7 separate regions of the Homo sapiens genome follow, and all the other regions are linked to region 1. The links are contacts of gene promoters, found by promoter capture Hi-C in blood cells and fetal thymus (Javierre and others, 2016). All regions are on one chromosome and are shown on one strand. Each heading gives the region's core, a stretch centred on a gene start or on the middle of the fragment in contact. The rest is flanking DNA. Distances are from core to core; before and after follow the strand shown.

What was found. Contacts are between HindIII fragments. The CHiCAGO score rates a contact against its expected background, and 5 or more counts as called.
Region 2: a fragment that was not itself captured here is called in contact with the fragment with the promoter of E2F3 in region 1 in 1 of 17 cell types (fetal thymus); the score reaches 9.7 in fetal thymus.
Region 3: a fragment that was not itself captured here is called in contact with the fragment with the promoter of E2F3 in region 1 in 1 of 17 cell types (fetal thymus); the score reaches 19.6 in fetal thymus.
Region 4: a contact is called between a fragment that was not itself captured here and the fragment with the promoter of E2F3 in region 1, in 1 of 17 cell types (total CD4 T cells). The highest score is 6.2, in total CD4 T cells.
Region 5: a contact is called between the fragment with the promoter of TDP2 here and the fragment with the promoter of E2F3 in region 1, in 4 of 17 cell types (fetal thymus, M0 macrophages, M1 macrophages and 1 more). The highest score is 16.3, in fetal thymus.
Region 6: a contact is called between a fragment that was not itself captured here and the fragment with the promoter of E2F3 in region 1, in 2 of 17 cell types (fetal thymus and total B cells). The highest score is 9.8, in fetal thymus.
Region 7: a contact is called between the fragment with the promoter of MRS2 here and the fragment with the promoter of E2F3 in region 1, in 3 of 17 cell types (M0 macrophages, M1 macrophages and M2 macrophages). The highest score is 7.4, in M0 macrophages.

What each region holds. Positions count from the first base shown.
Region 1 is chr6:20,400,558-20,403,216 of GRCh38, reverse strand. It overlaps E2F3 (E2F transcription factor 3), which reads right to left and starts at 1,338. Exons shown (of 7, transcript NM_001949.5): 1 at 592-1,338. The coding sequence starts at 984. It overlaps LOC124901482, which reads left to right and starts at 445. Exons shown (of 3, transcript XM_047419652.1): 1 at 445-792; 2 at 837-948; 3 at 1,055-2,476. The coding sequence starts at 445. The coding sequence ends at 1,662. RefSeq lists silencers at 1-3, 204-673, 1,524-1,763 and an enhancer at 901-1,425. The HindIII fragment of the contact is 2,252 bases long and covers 269-2,520 here.
Region 2 is chr6:24,771,488-24,774,146 of GRCh38, reverse strand. No RefSeq gene overlaps it. Among named protein-coding and RNA genes, the nearest start is that of GMNN, 2.1 kb to the left of the region's middle. The HindIII fragment of the contact is 2,016 bases long and covers 290-2,305 here.
Region 3 is chr6:24,721,178-24,723,836 of GRCh38, reverse strand. No RefSeq gene overlaps it. Among named protein-coding and RNA genes, the nearest start is that of C6orf62, 3.4 kb to the right of the region's middle. RefSeq lists enhancers at 1,840-1,929, 1,980-2,029, 1,621-2,414, 2,160-2,659. The HindIII fragment of the contact is 1,539 bases long and covers 640-2,178 here.
Region 4 is chr6:16,129,512-16,132,170 of GRCh38, reverse strand. MYLIP (myosin regulatory light chain interacting protein) reads right to left here. Exons shown (of 7, transcript NM_013262.4): 2 at 1,424-1,614. Among named protein-coding and RNA genes, the nearest start is that of MYLIP, 1.8 kb to the right of the region's middle. RefSeq lists a silencer at 2,404-2,659. The HindIII fragment of the contact is 1,493 bases long and covers 563-2,055 here.
Region 5 is chr6:24,665,543-24,668,201 of GRCh38, reverse strand. It overlaps TDP2 (tyrosyl-DNA phosphodiesterase 2), which reads left to right and starts at 1,303. Exons shown (of 7, transcript NM_016614.3): 1 at 1,303-1,504; 2 at 1,591-1,676. The coding sequence starts at 1,340. ACOT13 (acyl-CoA thioesterase 13) reads right to left here and starts at 1,125. Exons shown (of 3, transcript NM_018473.4): 1 at 858-1,125. The coding sequence starts at 938. RefSeq lists enhancers at 1,087-1,381, 913-1,584, 1,585-2,257. The HindIII fragment of the contact is 8,130 bases long and covers 1-2,395 here.
Region 6 is chr6:24,520,962-24,523,620 of GRCh38, reverse strand. It overlaps ALDH5A1 (aldehyde dehydrogenase 5 family member A1), which reads right to left. Exons shown (of 10, transcript NM_001080.3): 7 at 696-854. Among named protein-coding and RNA genes, the nearest start is that of ALDH5A1, 27 kb to the right of the region's middle. RefSeq lists silencers at 1,118-1,167, 2,537-2,586. The HindIII fragment of the contact is 1,335 bases long and covers 644-1,978 here.
Region 7 is chr6:24,401,592-24,404,250 of GRCh38, reverse strand. It overlaps MRS2 (magnesium transporter MRS2), which reads right to left and starts at 1,315. Exons shown (of 11, transcript NM_020662.4): 1 at 1,015-1,315. The coding sequence starts at 1,204. RefSeq lists an enhancer at 1-678 and a silencer at 2,436-2,659. The HindIII fragment of the contact is 7,340 bases long and covers 1-2,659 here.

The sequences.
Region 1 (2,659 bases), core at 89-2,588:
CCCCTCCACCTCCCCCAGCCCCTTTGTTGCCGGGAGTTACAGATCCTAAAATGTGTCAAGCGCAGCCCCGCCGATCCCCTGCGCTCCGAGCACGCCGCAGGGACCCCCGGCCGCCAACGAGCCTCCAAGGCCGACTGGGGGCTAGCACCCCAACAGTCCCCCGGTTTCAACCCCTCAGAGCCCCCCACACCCCAGTTCACTACTCCCTCCCCCACCCCCTTCTCCATCCGGGGCGTGACCCCTTCCTACGCCCGAGAAAGAGGAAGCTTCGAGTTGGAGGGGAAGGGAGAGTGGGGGTAGGGAAAAGTGCAGGAAAAGAAGGGGGGGCCGCGAAAAGTTTTGGAGTGTTTGATGTGGTTCGCGCCAAGGCAATCCCCGCCGCCCCGCGCGCCTGGCCGAGCCCCCCGACCCTCCTGGCGCCGGGAAGAGCACTCAGGTCTAACAATGAACCCTCGTTGGAGGGGCAGCCCCCGAGGCCCACGATGCTCGGCCCAGTGCTCTCCCCGAGCGGCCCGCAGCGCGCCCACGACCCCGCGCGGTGCGAGCCCACCTCCCGCCGGGGCTGGGGACGGTGGGGAGGGAGGGTATTACCGGAGGGCCGCCGCCGCCGCCGCTGCCGCCGCGTCCCAGCGCTGGTGGCTGCTGCAGCAGCCCGGCTCTGCTGGAGGGTCCGTGCGGCGTGGTGTAGAGGAGGCTGCCGGCGGTCTGCTCCGCGCCGGGGGCACTGGGGAGGAGGGGGCCGGCGGCTACGGCGCCGCTTTGGAGGGAGGAGGAACAGGAGGTGGTGGAAGTGTTCGTGGTGAGGATCTGGATGTACGCGCCCGGGGCGGCGGCAGCGGCGGCGGCGGCGGCGAAGCCGGGGCTGGCTAGCAGTGCCCTTTTGTCCATGGAGGCTGCAGCGGCGGCGGCGACGACAGCCGCCCCCTCCCCACCCCCGGCGGTCACCAGGTACTGCTCCAGAGCGGGCTGGATTCCCTTTCTCATCTCTCGCTCCTGCTCTTTTTAGTGTTATGGTATATTAATGTATTGTTTTCAATTTCTTTATTATTTGCAGTCGGAGTTTCCAAGTCTCTCCTCCTTCTCTCCTCCCCGCCCGGCGCTTCCGAGCCCCCTCTCTCTCTTTTCTTTTTATTTTTCCGCACCGCACAGGCCCCGGGGGCCAAAAATAATCGGGGCTCTGGAGAGAGGAGGGTCCCGGCCGCACGGATATCGGGCCCCAAGCGGGGATGGAGGCGTCGGGGGCGGCCGATGCAACGGATTGCGAGGCGGCGGCGGCAGCCCGGGTGCTGCGGCCGGCAGCTGAAAAATGGCTCCAGGAAGCTGCTGCTGACAATGAATGAAGGGATACGGTTTACGCGCCAAGGTCCTCCCGCGAAACTCGGATTTCCCGCCGGCTTTTCAAACCATATTTGCATATCCCCGCCCCTCAACCCGCCGAGGACCGTTCCCACAGCCCATTGGGCCGCTACCTCCTTACTTCAGTCCCAATCATGGAGCAGGGCCGCGACTTGCTGGTTTCCATTGGCTGCCGTGCATCATGGTTACCGGGGCGACAGGGACCCTATTTGCATAGGCCTCCTTGATTGGCTGGCAGAAGAGCAGTTTTTAGGGGGTGGGGCAAAGAATTTCCTTCTCTCCCACGGAAGACCACGCCTGGCCTAGGCTCCGCCCCTGTCCCCGCCCGCCCGCCGGGCCGGCGCTACTGACCTGGGCAGGGACTCCGCGCCCCGCAGACTCAGTGTAGATCTAGTCTAGAGCCCAAGTTTCGCTTTTGGAAATTGTCAAGGTGACTAAGGGAACACTCTTTCCTTTGACCAGTCAGTGCAATAAACGAACAGCGCAGGAGATTTTTCCAGATACGTGCCAAAGGCAAGTTGGACCATGCGGACGATGTCTGGCAGGTGCAAAAGGAGCCCTTTAAATCGTGGGCTTCTCCCTTCCTGAAATCCAACCAATGACGCGGCGAGAGCTGATCCCGAGGCCGGGGCTGATAGACAGAAGCATGTGGGCAGACAGAATCGTGGGGGCAGAAGGTTCAGCAGACGCGATTGCGGGCACCAGTTAACATTCCAGATCATTCCCGGTACCTTCATTATTAGCCTGGATAGGGGTAAAGTACAAATTAACTCTTTTGTCTTACAACGGATATTGGTTTGAATCCAGCAGACATTCCCTCTGGCCCAGAAACACCCAGGGCAGTTAATCAGGGCTAACCTAGAACTGATCTACGGGTTTCTAATCCGCCAAGCAGTAATCCGAAAAAGTACACGCTTCCCACGATGACGTCGTGCCCCCAACGAACGCAGGCACGCCCAGGCATCAGCACTTTATATCTTCAGTTTTGTAGGAAGTTCTCTGACTGGAAGCAAACACAACGACTCAAACCTATCCCAAAGTATTTTTAAAATAGTGTCTTTTTTTAAAAAGTAAACTAGAAATTGTCATCAGAAAAATATAAAATGATGTGTCAAACTGACTCCTGAATTTGTTCAAGTATTCATGGGTCTTAAAATTAAAGCTTGCTCCTGAGATTGAGCAGGAAAAGAGACCCCTGCAGGAATGTGGGGGAAGTTATGTATGTAGAGACTAGATCATAATTTATAGTTACGTGCAAAACAGCTGCAGAATTGGTGCTCATAGGTGATGAGGATTGCAACAC
Region 2 (2,659 bases), core at 48-2,547, 4.4 Mb before region 1:
ATTACCAAATGCAATGTATGGATCTCGTCTGAACTAAACACTGTATTTAAAAAAATACCCAAGGGAAATTTGAACACTGACTGAATATTTTGGGATGGTAAGATATGAGTTGTTTAAGGTTACCTGATGAGCAATGGGTTAAAAAAAGAGATTAGTTGTAATGACAATATTGTGGGTTTTATTGTAATAGCTTCTACCTATAAATGGTAATTACAGATGAAATTTTATACCATATATTTTATTTGAAATAATTATTGAGAGAAGCAAGGGAAAAGGTATAAATCAAGCTTTCTCAGTATGGGCTCTATTGACATTTTAGACTGGGCAAATTGTTCGTGGTGGGGGCTGTCCTGGGCATTGTATGCTGTTTAGCAGTATCCCTGGCCTCTACCCTCTAGCTACCAGGAGTACATCCCAATTGTGAAGACCAAAAATGTCTGCAGACCTTGTCAGATAACCTTCCGCAGGGCAAAATCATCCCCAGTTGAGAACCACTGGTGCGAATAAAACAGTATTGGCCTTGTGTTGATAACTGCTGAGGCTAGTATGGATGAGTACATGAAGATTTTTTATTCACTCCCTCTACTTTTATATCTGTTTGGGATTTTCAATAATAATTTTTTTTTTTGAGACGGAGTCTTGCACTGTCACCAGGGCTGGAGTGCAATGGTGCAACCTCGGCTTACTGCAACCTCTGCCCCCCCCGGGTTCAAGCGATTCTCCTGCCTCAGCCTCCCAAGTAGCTGGGATTACAGGTGCCCGCCACCACACCCAGCTAATTTTTTGTAGTTTTAGTAGAGACAGGGTTTCACTATGTTGGCCAGGCTGGTCTTGAACTCCTGATCGTGTGATCTGCCCACCTTGGCCTCCCAAAGTGCTGGGATTACAGGCGTGAACCACTGCACCTGGCCAATAATAAAATTTTTAAAATATTAATTTAAAAAGGATTAAATGATGGGATAAGGAGGTAGAAATACTGGAAAATGTTTAGCCATAAAAATTTCAGCAACCACTAGGCACCATGGCTCATGCCTGTAATCCCAGCACTTTGGGAGGCTGAGGCTGGCGGATCACCCTGAGGTCAGGAGTTCAAGACCAACCTGGCCAACATGGTGAAACCCTGTCTCTACTAAAAATACAAAAATTATCCAGGCATGGTGGCATGCGTCTGTAATCCCAGCTACTCAGGAGGCAGAGGCAGGAGAATAGCTTGAACCCAGGTGGTGGAGGTTGCAGTAAGCCAAGATCACACTACCACAATCTAGCCCAGGTGACAGAGTGAGACTCTATCTCAAAAACAAAACAAAACAAAACAAAACAAAACTTTAGCAACCACAAATATTTACACCAATTTTTTTATTTTTATTTTTATTCAGATGGATAAATAATAATTACATTGCACCAATTTATTTTTTGACAAACCATTTCTTTGATGAGTATAAGCACAGCTAAGAGAAGTGAAATGATGAAACACATTACTAATGAAGGTTTTGGGACTTGAGACTCAGATGATGTTAAGAATAATATACTCAGGATTGGCCGGGTGCAGTGGCTCACCCTGTAATCCCAGCACTTTGGGAGGCCGAGGCGGGTGGATCACGAGGTCAGGAGATCGAGACCATCCTGGCTAACATGGTGAAACCCCATCTCTACTAAAAACACAAAAAAAAGTTAGCCGGGCATGGTGGCAGGTGCCTGTAGTCCCAGCTACTCAGGAAGCTGAGGCAGGAGAACGGCGTGAACCCAGGAGGCAGAGCTTGCAGTGAGCGGAGATCGCGCCACTGCACTCCAGCCTGGGCGACAGAGTGAGACTACGTCTCAAACAAAAAGAAAAAAAAAAAGAATAATATACTCAGGATCTTCAGGGGATTATTTTAGTGCAGAATTATTTAAAGGATTGAAGATGGTCTAGAAGGTGGCCCCTGGGCATTAAATATGTTTTGTTTCACATACACAATTGTGGCCTACACATTGTCTTAAAATGGAAATTGTCTGTATTTTAAAAATCGGATGATTTCCATAAGCAAAGACAAATGATAAAGTAAGAGAAAATATAGGGAATTTCTTTTACACATAAAAGACTACATTCCCTAATTTTTAAAGAGCTATAAAACATTGAGAGGGAGAAGCCAACAGCCCAATAGATAAATCGGCAAAAGACAGGAATGGACGGTTCAGAGAAAACGATAGAGGAATGGTCCTTAAACATACAAAACCATGCTCAACTTTACTGAGAATAAGAGACATGCAAATTAAAACTCTGAAAAACTATTTCAACTATCAGACTAGCAGCTATAGAAAAGCTTGACAACATACTTACAGTAGATAGAATTCTAAAATGCCACCCATTATCTCTGACCTCTGATTATGCCTATGATTAGGTTATTCAATAAGGCAAAGGTGGTGGGATTTTATAATTGTAATTAAGGCCCCAAATCGGTATACTTTAAATTATCGAAAGTGAGATTATCCTGTTGGCCTTGACGTAATCATTAGGATGTCCTTCAACAGAGGGCTTAGACTTTTTTTGATGTATCTCTTACTGGCCTTGAAGAAGCAAGCGGCCATGAGTATTATGTCTCCAAAGAAATGAATTCTCCCAACAATTGGAATGAGTTTAGAAGCAGATCCTTCTCCAATGAAGCCTCTAGATGACAAT
Region 3 (2,659 bases), core at 160-2,659, 4.3 Mb before region 1:
ACACCTGTAATCCCAACACTTTGGGAGGCCGAGGTGGGTGGATCACTTGAGGTCAGGAGTCTGAGACGAGCCTGGCCAACATGGTGAAACTCCGTCTCTACTAAAAATACAAAAATCATCCGGGCATGGTGGTGGGGGCCTGTGGGCCCAGCTACTCGGGGCTGAGGCAGAAGAACTGCTTGAACCCAGGAAGCGGAGGTTGCAGTGAGCTGAGATAATGCCACTGCACTTCAGCCTGGGCAACATAGCGAGACTCTGTCTCAAAAAATAAATAAATAAACAAGTAGATAAATAAAAATGGGCAAAAGTTCTGAATAGACATTTCTCCAAAGAAGATATTAGAACAGCCAATAAGCACATGAAAAGATGCTCAACATCATTAATCGTTGGGGAAAGGAAAATCAAAACCACCATGACATACATCATACCCACTAGGATGGTTATACTAAAAAAGACATAATAACAAGAATGTGGAGAAATTGGAATACACTGCTGGAGGAAATGTAAAATGATGCAACAGACTTGGAAAACATCTGGCAGTTTCTCACATGGTTAAAGATAGAGTTAACATATATCCCAGTAATTCCACTCTTAAGTATATGCCCAAGAGAATTAAAAACATACGTCTATACAAAAGCTTTTAAGTAAATGTTCATAGCAGCATTATTTATAACAGCCAAAAGGCAGAGACAACTCAAATGTCCATCAACTGATGAATGAATATAGAATTTCATACAATACATATTATTCCACAATAAAAAGGAATTAAGTACTGATACATGCTACAACATGGATGAACCTTGAAAACATTATGCTAAGTGAAGAAGCCAGTCACAAAAGACCACATATTAAATGATTTCATTTATATGAAATTTCAGAAACGGCAAATCTATAGACAGAACATAAACTAGAAAGAAGAGAAGTGACTGCTAATAGGTACAGGGTTTCTTTTTGGGGTAATGTAATGGCTGCACAACACTGAATATATTAAAAACCATTGGATTGTACACTTCAAGTAGATAAATACGGTATGTGAATTATATTTCAATAAAGCTGTTATTTTAAAAATTCTTCCATGAAGTTGATCATGGATACAAGTCAAGGCCAGGTCAAGAACATATAAGCCGGCTGGGAATGGTGGCTCATGCCTGTAATCCCAACACTTTGGGAGGTTGAGGCAGGCGGATCACCTGAAGATCATACTGGCTTGTATGTCTCATATGTTTGTTTGTTTTTTTTTTTTTTTCCGACGGAGTCTCACTCTGTTGCCCAGGCTGGAGTGCAATGGTGCGATCTCGGCTCACTGCAATCTCCGCCTCCCGGGTTCAAGCGATTCTCCTGCCTCAGCCTCTCGAGTAGCTGGGACTGCAGGCGCCTGCCACCAAGCCAGGCTGATTTTAGTATTTTCAGTAGAGACGAGGTTTCACCATGTTGGCCAGGCTGGTCTCGAACTCCTGACCTTAGGTGATCCGCCTGCCTCGGTCTCCCAAAGTGCTGGCATTACAGGCGTGAGCCACCATGCTCGGCTTACTTTTAAAAATCTTTCTTTTTTAAACCAATGCTCTAAACTACGTGACATTTTCTGTTTTATCTCTGTGAGCTTTCCATAGTTACATGATTTTGAAAACAAATCAGCAAAGCACTAGCAAAATGCAAGCTGTATCTTCCGAGATTAGAAGTTATTTGGAAATCTCAGGACTCATCCTTTGGTTCTGGACAATTTATATTGAAGGGTGGGTACCAGTTATTCTTTTGGCTCATGGCTGAAATAATGTTATTACAGCTGATCTGTTTTGACTTCACGAAGTGAAAAGTAGTAATTGGGGTCCCAATGGACTTCTAAAATCTCAGAGTAGCCAATGAGTATATAAGCATTGCTTATGTGGAGTATTGACCTTTGCTAAGTACTTACATAACTGTGTTTTAAAGAGCACATTAGAGCTTTGAAAAATGGACTCAACGCTTTTTGGTGCCAAGGACGTGCGACTCGGCGGCAAACGTTTCGATGAAGACAGTGAACCACCTAAGGGGCAGGCTGTAGGTCTGAGGTCTTGGGGGATTCTAACAGAAAGTGTGTTCTGACAGCAGTGGGTAAAAATCCACGAGTCAGACTGGGCTGCTCCTCTCCTAAGCCACAGCAGCAACGTCTGAACAACGTCTTTGACCTTGTTCGAAGCTTGAGGACCGCCCTCCCTGCCTGCGCACGTGGCGGGGTGGGGACAGAGGCAAGTAGCACTAACATGAGACATCTGCTCCCGCACGCCGTTTAAATTCCAGGTGTCGAATTGAGTTCTAGGTTTGTTGCCGCAGGATACCGCGGGGCCGACCCCCAGGACTAACTAATTATAAGAATCGAAATAAGAATCTTCCAATCTCCAACACACACTTTCCTTTTCCTTCTTTGCTCCGCCCCTACCCTCGCCCACTCTCCGCCGACTTCCGCAGTTTTGGCCCGCCCAGGTCGCTAGTTCGGCTCTGTCACGCGCCCAGCCTGACTCTGAGAGGCTGACGAGACTCGGGAAGTGCGACTCCATCCGGGTGTTTTGTTGAGGATGGTTGAGGGCGTGCTTTTATGACGACATCGGGGCGGGGCGAAGAGCCAACTCAGGAGACTGGGACTTCCTGAAGAAGGGGGGCGGAAGGAGTGGCGGGGAGCCCC
Region 4 (2,659 bases), core at 60-2,559, 4.3 Mb after region 1:
AGATTTAAAAAATAATTTTGTGCCATCAAAACTGGGTTGCATCTAGAGATCTTGAAATAATTACAAAATCATAATAGGACTACACAATGAAAATTCCAATATGTTGTGTTATATCTTGTATTCGACTGCAAGTTATGACAGTGAAGCGCAAAGCTTTCACAAATCGGCTTTAAATAATAATTTTAAAAAGTCTATTCTGATTAATACAGACAGCTAAAACATCCTTAAGCATGCAATCACTTGAATATTTTGCAAGATATTTTCAGGAGTACCAAGAACTCAATATACCATCTTCATTCAGAAACAAAATTAAACGTCTGCCTCAACCTTTAAAGCTCGATTACAAGGCAAAGTGGAAATTTCAAATTCAAATGATAAGTATTTCAAAATGAGTCTTTATCAGTCCTTTGGTAAAACAAACAAGCAAATGTCATGTAAAAAACTCTTAAAGGATAATGCTCATTCATCATTACTTAAAATTTTTAGAATCACATTTTTCATATGCATGGCAAATTTCTCAGCCAAAGAATTATGAAAAACATTAGAACTTAGATCCAAAGCTTGCTATGTCTTCAAAGTAGCTGTTTTCCTTTTTAATTTTTTGATATGCCACTGTAAGATTGAAGTCTCCTGCCTTTCAATAAATATTAAATATCAATTTCCTAGTTTGGCTCATTCTTGAGAATCAAGTATTAGAGTCAGTCCAGGGGAGAACATATTTTGTTTGAAAAATGAGACCACATGCTTCAGTTGTCTACCACTGTTGGTGGTGTTTTACAACGTAGAGAGATAAATTCAATCTATACTCACCAATCGTGTGTAACATATCTGTGGGTTGGAATTCAGTTACAGTAGCCTTAGAAGAGTTCATGAAATTACATTTTCAAGAAACTTAAAAACTTTAAAAATTCTGCATGAAGTCAAACAGAGCTCTTGGCTGCACACTGTAATCTGACACTAGGCTGAAGAAACTGACCAAGTTTAAGTAACCCAAGAGGAACTGTTTCCTGCTTTCTGTTAGAACAGTCTGCAATGACCTATAGTAACACTGCTGAGGCAGAGGTTACTATCGGGCATTAGATGCTGCTATCAGGAAGTCAGTCACTCGGGTAGGGTGGTTTCTTTTTTTTTTTTTTTTTTTCCTGGGGTAGCACTTATCTCAAGTGTTTGTAAGAATTCAACCCTGCTCACCCATCAAGTTTATAAAGACAAGAAAAACTAAAAGAAGGATTGGAAAATGCACTCAGACCAAGTAGGTAGCTCCCCCTCCACCTCAACAAAAGGACCTGCATGGAAAACCTAAGTTAAGATGGAACTCCGCATCAAAACAAACTTGCCTGTGAGTATCTCTGGGAAGGTGCAGCGGCCCTTCTAAAGGGAACCAAAGGTCAATTTGACATTGGTTTATTTTAGCTCACTTTACCTAGTCTGCTCCTGTAAGATGAGATGAGGCTCCACGAAGAACTTGACTCTAAGTTTAAGCCTGTAAGGGGCTAGCCCATCCATCTGCTGGGAGATCCGGTTTCTCAGGTTTAGCCATAAACTTTCACCTTTGCTACCCGTAAACTGCAGTCCAAAATAGTCAACTTCTATGATTCCCAGTCGCCTGCACACCTAAAACAAAAAGGAATGCAGCCTGGATGAGCAAATGGTACGTATCAAAGCAAACCCAACGGCTCCCTGAGGCTAAGATTGCTGGTGCTTTTTACAAAGTTCAATGGTGTTACAATTCCTGATCTAAACTGGAAAAACAAAGTTCCACGGCTCCAATGATACCAAACCACGAGCTCTAGTATGGAGGCTCATAATTCCTTTTAACGTCTAGGGCATGACCAATTGCAATAGAGAAAAAAGGAGTCCTCAAAAGTAGCCTTCCAAAAGATGAGGAGGGGAAACTACAGGGTATTTTCCTTCGTATTCCAATCACCGGAATTCCCTCCACCAGCATACTCTGCACAGCTGATTTTTGGCGACTTATTATCTGGGCAATTTTAACCATTTGGACTCCAAAAATCAAACACATTGAGGGAACACGCCACAAGTGTCAGCTAAGCTTCACAAGCGGTTTTCCAAACATCTCAGAGCTAGAGGGGTTGAGGGCACAGCGTTTTCCTGGGATCACATGTGCTGTCTGCCATACCACCTCTGCACTATTTGGCACCGATCTCCCTCACTGTTAAGGAAACACATGCTTAAAAACAACCGAGCAGTAGATGACCCAAACCTATTCCTCCCGTCCCCCGCAAACCCGGAGATGCAGGTGAACGGTGCATTTGAGAGCAGCAGCCTGAGAAGCAGCGTGAGACAAGGGCCCGGCTTGTCTGCCAAGAACCCCTGGGGCCCGAGACTGCTTCGAGCCACTCCATCCCATCCTGGCACGCGGGTGGCACTGCCAGGCGCCGCGGGGACCCGACAGGCGGCATCACGCACATACCTGCGGCAGGTGTGCGGAGCCGCCTTCTTCCGGGAAAGTGCTGGGTTGGGGGGATGATGGGGCGCTGGGGGGTGGATCCCGGCTGCGGGCTGCGCCCGGCCCTCAGCGCTGGGGACCCCCGCTGCGCGCTTTCTCCGCGCACCCCACGCGCGCCAGGAGGAGACCGCGCGCCCCACGCCCGTGGAGAGGAGGGGACGCGCTCCCCCCGGCTGCCGCCGCAGTGCC
Region 5 (2,659 bases), core at 54-2,553, 4.3 Mb before region 1:
GCGTGGCGGCTCACACCAGTAATCCCAGCACTTTGGGAGGCGGAGGCAGGCGTTTCACCTGAGGTCGGGAGTTCGAGAGCAGCCTGACCAACATGGAGAAACCCTGTCTCTACTAAAAGTACAATATTAGCTGGGCATGGTGGCGCATGCCTGTAATCCCAGCCACTCGGGAGGCTGAGTGAGGCAGGAGAATTGTTTGAACCAGGGAGGTGGAGGTTGCAGTGAGCCGAGATCGCGCCATTGCACTCCAGCCTAGGCAACAAGGGCGAAACCTCATCCTAAAAAAACAAAAACAAACAAACACCTTCGGGCTTTGTGAGTGCTGGTCTCAGAAAAGCACTCAGTCTTCCTCCAAGGGCTAACTTACTTCTTCAGGAGTTGGGTGCCTTTGAGAAATTTCCCAAACCACTACAGAGGAACAACTTCTCCCTTCGTTCACCACTCTACCAAGCACTTGGCTTTTGTACCTTATTGCAATTATTTATCTTCTAATCTTCTAGAGCCTAGAGAATTAGACTGTAATGTGCCTTAAATGCAGAGGTTTCTCTTACTCTTCTCTGGAGCAATGCAGACGTTTGTTGGTTGAAGGATCAAACTCCAAAGTCCCTCCCAGCCTTGGAACTGTCTCCACGAGTCATAACCATACTTATCTATGTTTAGATAGAGAACTTACGCGTTCGACCCAGCATATTTAGGGGCTCCATTAAAGTAATAATCATTATTACTAAGGTGAATTTACAGGCGTACTAGAACACAACCTAACAAGAGATAATTATTCAAAGCTCACAACGGCACCAAGCACGGTGCTTTCTTTTCCTTCATTAGAAGCCACGGCTTCTCCCCTACCTTTCCCATACCTTTCCCAAAACTCTCTCAAAATTGCGAGCCTTGGTCATGGCCTTTATCACCTCCCGCAGAGACTGAGTCATGCTGGTCATCGTGGACGGTTTTCCAGCCTTTGGGCTTTGCGCAAGAACGAACTTCGGAAGAGCTGGAAAGTCCAGAAGTTAGTGAAAGAAGGAGGACACAAAGGGCGAAGAGCCCGCACCCTTCTCCGCCCCTAGGAGCGCAAGAGGCCGGGAGTCAGGCGAGCTGGCAGCCCCGGTGGTCCGCGATTTGCTCACTGACTTTCCTCGCACCCTTGTGACGAAGCGCGCATGCGCGCTTCGCACCCACCGCCCCGGCGGCTCCCTTGCGGCGCAGCTGCACCAGTTTTCCGAGAGCAGCGCATTTCCCCGCCGGGCGGTTGATGCGGGAGCGCCATGACACAGGCGCCTGCGCAGAGCCGCGCGTTGGCCTCCTGTTCCGCTTAAAGGGGCGGTGCAGAGGCGGCAGGAAGATGGAGTTGGGGAGTTGCCTGGAGGGCGGGAGGGAGGCGGCGGAGGAAGAGGGCGAGCCTGAGGTGAAAAAGCGGCGACTTCTGTGTGTGGAGTTTGCCTCGGTCGCAAGCTGCGATGCCGCAGTGGCTCAGTGCTTCCTGGCCGAGAACGACTGGGAGATGGAAGTACGCTTTCGCTGTCCTCGCTTCCGGCTCCATTACCTAGGTCGGTGGAGCGCACAAACCTCATCCCTTGTGCCTTTGTTTTTCAGAGGGCTCTGAACTCCTACTTCGAGCCTCCGGTGGAGGAGAGCGCCTTGGAACGCCGACCTGAAACCATCTCTGAGCCCAAGACCTAGTAAGTGATGAGGGGAGCGGGAGCCAGTCCGCACGGAGGCAGTTTGATACCAGGTAGCCCTGCGCGTCCTGGGACCTGCCGTGGAGCTGGGCGGACGATGCTGAGGCAGATCTCCAAGCTGCGTAGCCAGAGGAGCAGGGCTTGCGTTGCTGCTGCTGCGCGGAGTTGCGCCCCAGCAGCGGATCTAACACTGCACCAGACTGTCGCTTCGAACGTGATTTGGGGTCCAGGGAGGAAAAGATGGAAATGTAATGTTTAACTCAAATGAAAGGAAATAAGTAAGCGAGAGGTTTGAAACAAATGAACGAAGGCTAAACCTTCTATCGAAAAATGGCAACTTGGAAGTCTCCTTGCTTCCTGTATTGTTTATTTATTCTAGGCCCTAGGCTGACCGGCCAGAATAACAGGTTTGTTGTTGTTGTTATTTTTTTTTAATGCACACCTACTCCTGTTATTTCAGTGCCCCTCTCCAGTTCCTGCACTTAAAAAGTGTAGCTGCCTTACAAGGCCCTCTACTATTTGGCTCCATAACTTAGAACCTGCCTTTCCAGGTTCCAGGCCTATCAAACTTTTACTTTTTTCCAACGGGTCATTTTCTCCTGTCTTTGAAACTTCGTAAAGATCTTTATTACCTGTGCCTGGAATTTTTTTCTTTTCCCTTCCTTGCTAATATTTGTCTTAAAGCCCCAAGCTGAGACATGATTTATCTCTAGGAAGCTTTTCCTGATGTCCTAAGTCTGGGTAAGAGTCCCCTTTTAGGTACTCTTATAGCATCCTGCATGACCCCTGTTACAATACCTTAGTCCGTATTATAATTGCTGTTCATTATTTTATGTCTCCTACTAGACTGCACATCTAGTAAGGAGTATCTGTTTTGTACATTGTTAATTTCCCAAAGTCTGACACAACATTTGACACATAATAAGCTCCCAATAAATATTTACTGAATGTATAAAATTCTCCCAGCTATATGTACAACCTGT
Region 6 (2,659 bases), core at 62-2,561, 4.1 Mb before region 1:
CTCAAGATCCTAATTGCTGAGGCAGTGAGGGATAGAATTATCATCACTATAACAAAATTTAGGGAGGACAGTAAAGAGCTACAGTGACAGACCGCATGGGGACTTGGTGCAATGGCAGGGCTATAGCAGCTCATGACCAGACAACAACCCGATTCATATAACTGGTAGGCAGAATTCACTTTTCTCAGGTTTCTCCATTGTTTACAAAATAGGCTTGCTGGGCACTTTACCAAAATGACTTTTTTGTTTTCATTTTTTTTTTTTGCCTTTTAACATCATTTTTTTTAGCTATTATTAATTTTTTACTTATTTTAACCTTTGTGGTTTTTGTATGAAAACATCATTGAAAATTCCATTCGATTCCATGTATAGATGTAGATCTCTCATACTCTATACTCTAATCAGGATAGTTAGCACATCTATCGCCTCAAACATTGATCATTTCTTTATACTGGGAACGTTCAAAATCTACTCTTCTAATAATAGCTATTTGAAAATATACAATACATTGTTGCTAATTACAGTCATTCTACAGTGCTGTAGAACACCAGAGCTTATTCCTTCTGTCTAGCTGTAATATTCTGTCAACCCACCCCTCTCTATCCCCACCCCTCCAGCCAAAGTGTTTTTTGCTGATTAAGCTTTTCATATTGAAACCATGAAATTTACTTTCACAAATAATACAATATACTTACCTTTTCTACCGCTTTTTCATTAATTAATGGGCCCTGAGTAGTTCCTTCCTCAAATCCATTACCTACGCGCAGGTTCTTCTTCATGGCCTCGGCGAATGCTTTTACAAAGGCATCATGGATGCCCCTTTGCACCAAGAATTGGTTTGAGCAAACACAAGTCTGGACAGGAGACAAAAACAAACCCACACAGTCTGTCAGAAGCTGCAGACCTGACCAGTGAACGTGTGGCTGCTACCGCCTCTCTGTGAAAACACTTCCCTCGGTGGTTGTCATGTGCTCAAACTGCCATTTTCCTCCTCACGTGGGCTTGGCCCCAAAGATAAAAGCACTGAGTCAGTGCATGTTCCCCTCCAGTTCCCTCCACAGCTGCTATGCTACACAGCTGCTATGCATCAGTGATTAGTTGGCAATAAGCACCTGTACACACACACACACACACACACACACGAAAGAAAAGAAAAAAAAGCCACCCAATCCATGTTTTTTTCAAATGGCTTTTATTTTGTTTCCCTGGGGGGTGGGGAAAGAGTGCAATTCTCCTAGGAGACTGTGATGCTGCAGCAACAGCAGAGGCTAAGAGGAATGTGGTCCAACACCAACTTATAGTCTTTTGTTTTGCTGACACAGGGTCTCGCTCTGTCGCCCAGGCTGGAGTGCAGTAGTGATGAGTTCACTGCAGCCTTGACCTCCAGGGCTCAAGTGATTCTTCCACCTCAGCCTCCCAAGTAGGTGGGACTATAGGCACTTGCCACCATGCCCAGCTAATTTTTAATTTTTTTTGGCTGGGCGCAGTGGCTCATGCCTGTAACCCCAGCACTTTGGGAGGCTGAGGTGGGTGGATCACCTAAGGTCAGGAGTTCGAGACTAGCCTGGCCAACATAGTGAAACCCATCTCTACTAAAAATAGAAAAATTAGCTGTAGTCCCAGCTACTCAGGAGGCTGAGGCAGGAGAATCTCTTGAATCCGGGAGGTGGAGGTTGCAGTGAGCTGACATCATGCCACTACACTTCAGCCTGGGCAACAGAGTGAGACTCTGTCACACAAAAAAAAAAAAAAAAAAAAAAAAATTGTAGAGACAGAGTCTCACTCTGTTGCCCAGGCTGGTCTCCAACTCCTGGGCTCAAGTGATCCTCCTGCTTTGGCCTCCCAAAATGCTGGGATTACAGTTCTGAGCCACCATACCTGTCCCCAAGTTGTAGCCTTACAGTGTAATTGATGGTAACATATATTGACATTTTGTATTTATGAAGGAAAATATACTTATTTCAGACAAAACCAAGCTTATTTAGGTTATGTGGAAGGGAAAAACTTAATTACCAAAGGCCAAGGCAAGGATGAAAATTATTTGATAGAGAATATCACACATTTCAGTTTTTTCACAATATAACCTTTCAGGGATATTTACTCTGTTTCTAGAATGCATTTAAAATTACATATTGATGGTACTTTTAAGATGAATGCTTAAGAATATTTAAGAAGGCAGGACCCTGGCAGCAGCTTGGATAGAACTGGAAGACAGGAGCCTTGGCTCAGAGTCCCAGCTCCTCAGCAGATTTGACACTGTGGCCCAAAGACGTCTGATCTCTAAGTCACTTTTTCTTTCTAGAGTTTCATTTCCTCATCTCTAAAATGCAACGTTTGTAGAGCTGATAACTGTGAAGGTCCCTGACAGATCAAATATTCCAGGATTTCCTAGGAAGACATGAGCTCAGGCCTCTGGTCTCCCAGGACAGCCTGGATGCTCCTCTAAAACACTGCTGGCGTGGGCCTGTGCCCTGTAGAGGGCACCTCTGAGGCTCCCTCCATCTCGGGACAGCGAGGCCCCACTGGGTCATAGCAGGCAACAGGGTTTTGAGTTATTCCAGCCACCACCCTCCTCAACATTTTCTTACTTTCTTTCCCTTGGCCTCAGAGACCCCAATTGTTCAAGGCTGTTCTGTGTCTGAGGAGATTATATCCGTTC
Region 7 (2,659 bases), core at 66-2,565, 4.0 Mb before region 1:
AAAAGTTTCCTCCAACTTGCTGAAACTGGATTCCCAAGCATTATCAATTGAGGGTGCAGAGCATGTAACCCAACTTAGCCTCTCCAATAAGTGGAGAATGAGGTGCTGACGAGGAGTTACTTTGGGAGGCTTTTGAGAGCACAATTGAGAAAACATATTTGAGGACACTGCTATGTTCTTAATAAAGTCATTCATTTCAATACCTTTTATTCCTCAAATATTTGCACTCACATTTGTGAAAATCTTAACTTTTCACCATGCTTCAACATTTGGTGAAAAAATAAACAGCAAATAAGATTTTTTTTTCTCAATCCGATCTCCCTGGCTGTTTACTTATAGAGTACTGTAGTTGAAAGTAAGTCGTTCTCAGAAACAACTCAGTCTTTAGCCTCACTTCTAGGTGCGTCCCCAATCTCCGTGCAACTGGACAACTGTATAAATGTGTCCATAACGAAGAAACAGAAAACAGGGAAGTATTAATTTATACTTATGACTTCCGAACAGATGAAATCCTTGTTTAAAAACACCTCTCGGCCAGGTGTGGTGGCTCACGCCTGTAATCCCAGCGCTTTGCGAGGCTAATGCGTTAGGATGGCTCGAGGCAAGGAGTTTGAGTCCAGCCTGGGCAACATAGTAAGACCCTGTCTCAAAAACAACACAGAAAAAACCTCTTACAAGAGCACTTAAGCGGGTGTTAACTAACGTGATCACGGTCTGTAAACGATTCCTAGGTTGTTCCTATGGTTACATAATCTGCAGCAAGGGCGGTGGAGGAGAAGGCAGAGGGTTGGCCGCTGGGACCCCGGCAGGGCACAGCGCACATAGCAAGGTCGCATTCTGAGCGAGTGGGACGCAGCTCGGCCCGCGGGCCTGTGCAAGCTCACAGGACACGCGGGAGGCCGAGGCCTGCGGAGGGCGCGGAGCAACAGGCGCGCCGCGCCGGACGGCTGGGGCAGCAGTCTAAGGTCACTGCAAGACCAGCGTCCCAAGGCTGTTGCCGGGGAAGGGCAGTACCTGCCACGCGGAGCCGGTCGGGCCCGCAAAGCTGCGCCGCTCGGCTCCTTCCAATCAGGTTGGCTCGGCGGCCGCAGGCAGCAACGGGAGGACCCACAGAGGTCACGTCCAAGGCCAGGGCACACAGCGTCCGCCGGGGAAGTCTCATCGCGCGGGGCAGGAGGCAGGGTAAACTGCGCAGGCATTCCATGGTGCTGGAGCAAGAAGCAGGCAGCAGCCAGACCCCAGACCTTCATGCCGGACGCTGGCTGCTCAGGCCGCAGCTCTGACCTGTCGCTACCGCCCGACCTGCAGACTCTGTGCACCAGGCATGCGCGGGGCGTGCCGCGCCTGCGTGCTACTTCCCCACGCATGCTCGGAAGGTACCTGTGGGCGAGCCTGTTAAGTCCACAGCCAATAGACGTTTGCTTGCCTACCTGTACCTGCACCTGTACCTAAGTGAGGGGGCAGGCGGGCTGGGAGATGGGTGGAGCACGTTTACCTGCACTAAGTGAGCTGTCCAACCTAGGTTCTTGGGCGCTTGGAGTGTCATGGTTTTGTAGTTTGTGGAGAATTTTCATACCTATGAAAATTGCAGTTTGGAAATGAGCAGGTTACCCATTCCCACATCATTTAATTTATATTTAAATTTAACGTGGTGTAGGGAGCAAGAGGGAAAGCTCCTACTTTTGCCCTCTGAAAGTTGCTGGAATGAACTAAGTAGACAGATTAGCAGGAGAAAAAGGCATACAAAATTTGCTTAACGTGCATAGGGAAAAATCACAGAAGAGTGATTACTCAATAACTCAATTAAGGTCCAGATGCTTGTATACCCTTCTTTGTTGAGTAGAGGGAGATAGGTATGAATGGGCCCGAAAGCCAGACAGTGGTTTGCAAATGATTCTCCTTGGACATTCAGTGGGACAGAAGTACAAACAATCGCTTGTGGACAAGCTGTGAAACTTCACTCTGAACAAAAATTGTCCTATTATACAGGTAAAGTTTCCCAGGTAATCTCTTGGAGCTACCCTCAGAAGTATCTATGAAAAGTCTCAGTGTGGCTATGACTTTCAGTTTTTGTCTCTTCTCTGGGTGATTAATCTCTTCTGATTATTTAATGCGATTCCTAAGGAACGGGTTTTAAGACAATTGCATTTCTTTGGAAAAGAGTTTTCTCTGTCAGATAAGGAAATTCCTTATCTGGCTGTGCAGGAAAAGAGAGCCCCTTCAGGTGCTTGGAAAAAGTAAGAGTATCAGAGAGACAAAAGGAAGGGGGAAGGTGAGAGAGAGAGGCCTTGATTTTTAGGCTTCTTTCTGAGACCCTTTTAATTTCCTTTAATTCAAAGACTCAACATGCCACCGGGCGTGGTGCCTCATGCCTGTAATCCAGCACTTTGGGAGCCAAGCACTTTGGGAGGCCAATGTTGTGGACCACTTGAGGTTAGGAGTTCAGGACCAGCCTGGCCAACATGGCAAAACCCGTCTCTACTAAAAATACAAAAATTAGCCGGGTGTGGTTGCAGGTGCCTGTAATCCCAGCTACTTGTAAGGCTGAGGCATAAGAATTGCTGGAATCCAGGAGGTGGAGGTTGCAGCGAGCCCAGATCATGCCATTGCATTCCAGCCTGTACTGCATTCCAGCCTGTACGACAGAGTGAGACTCCCA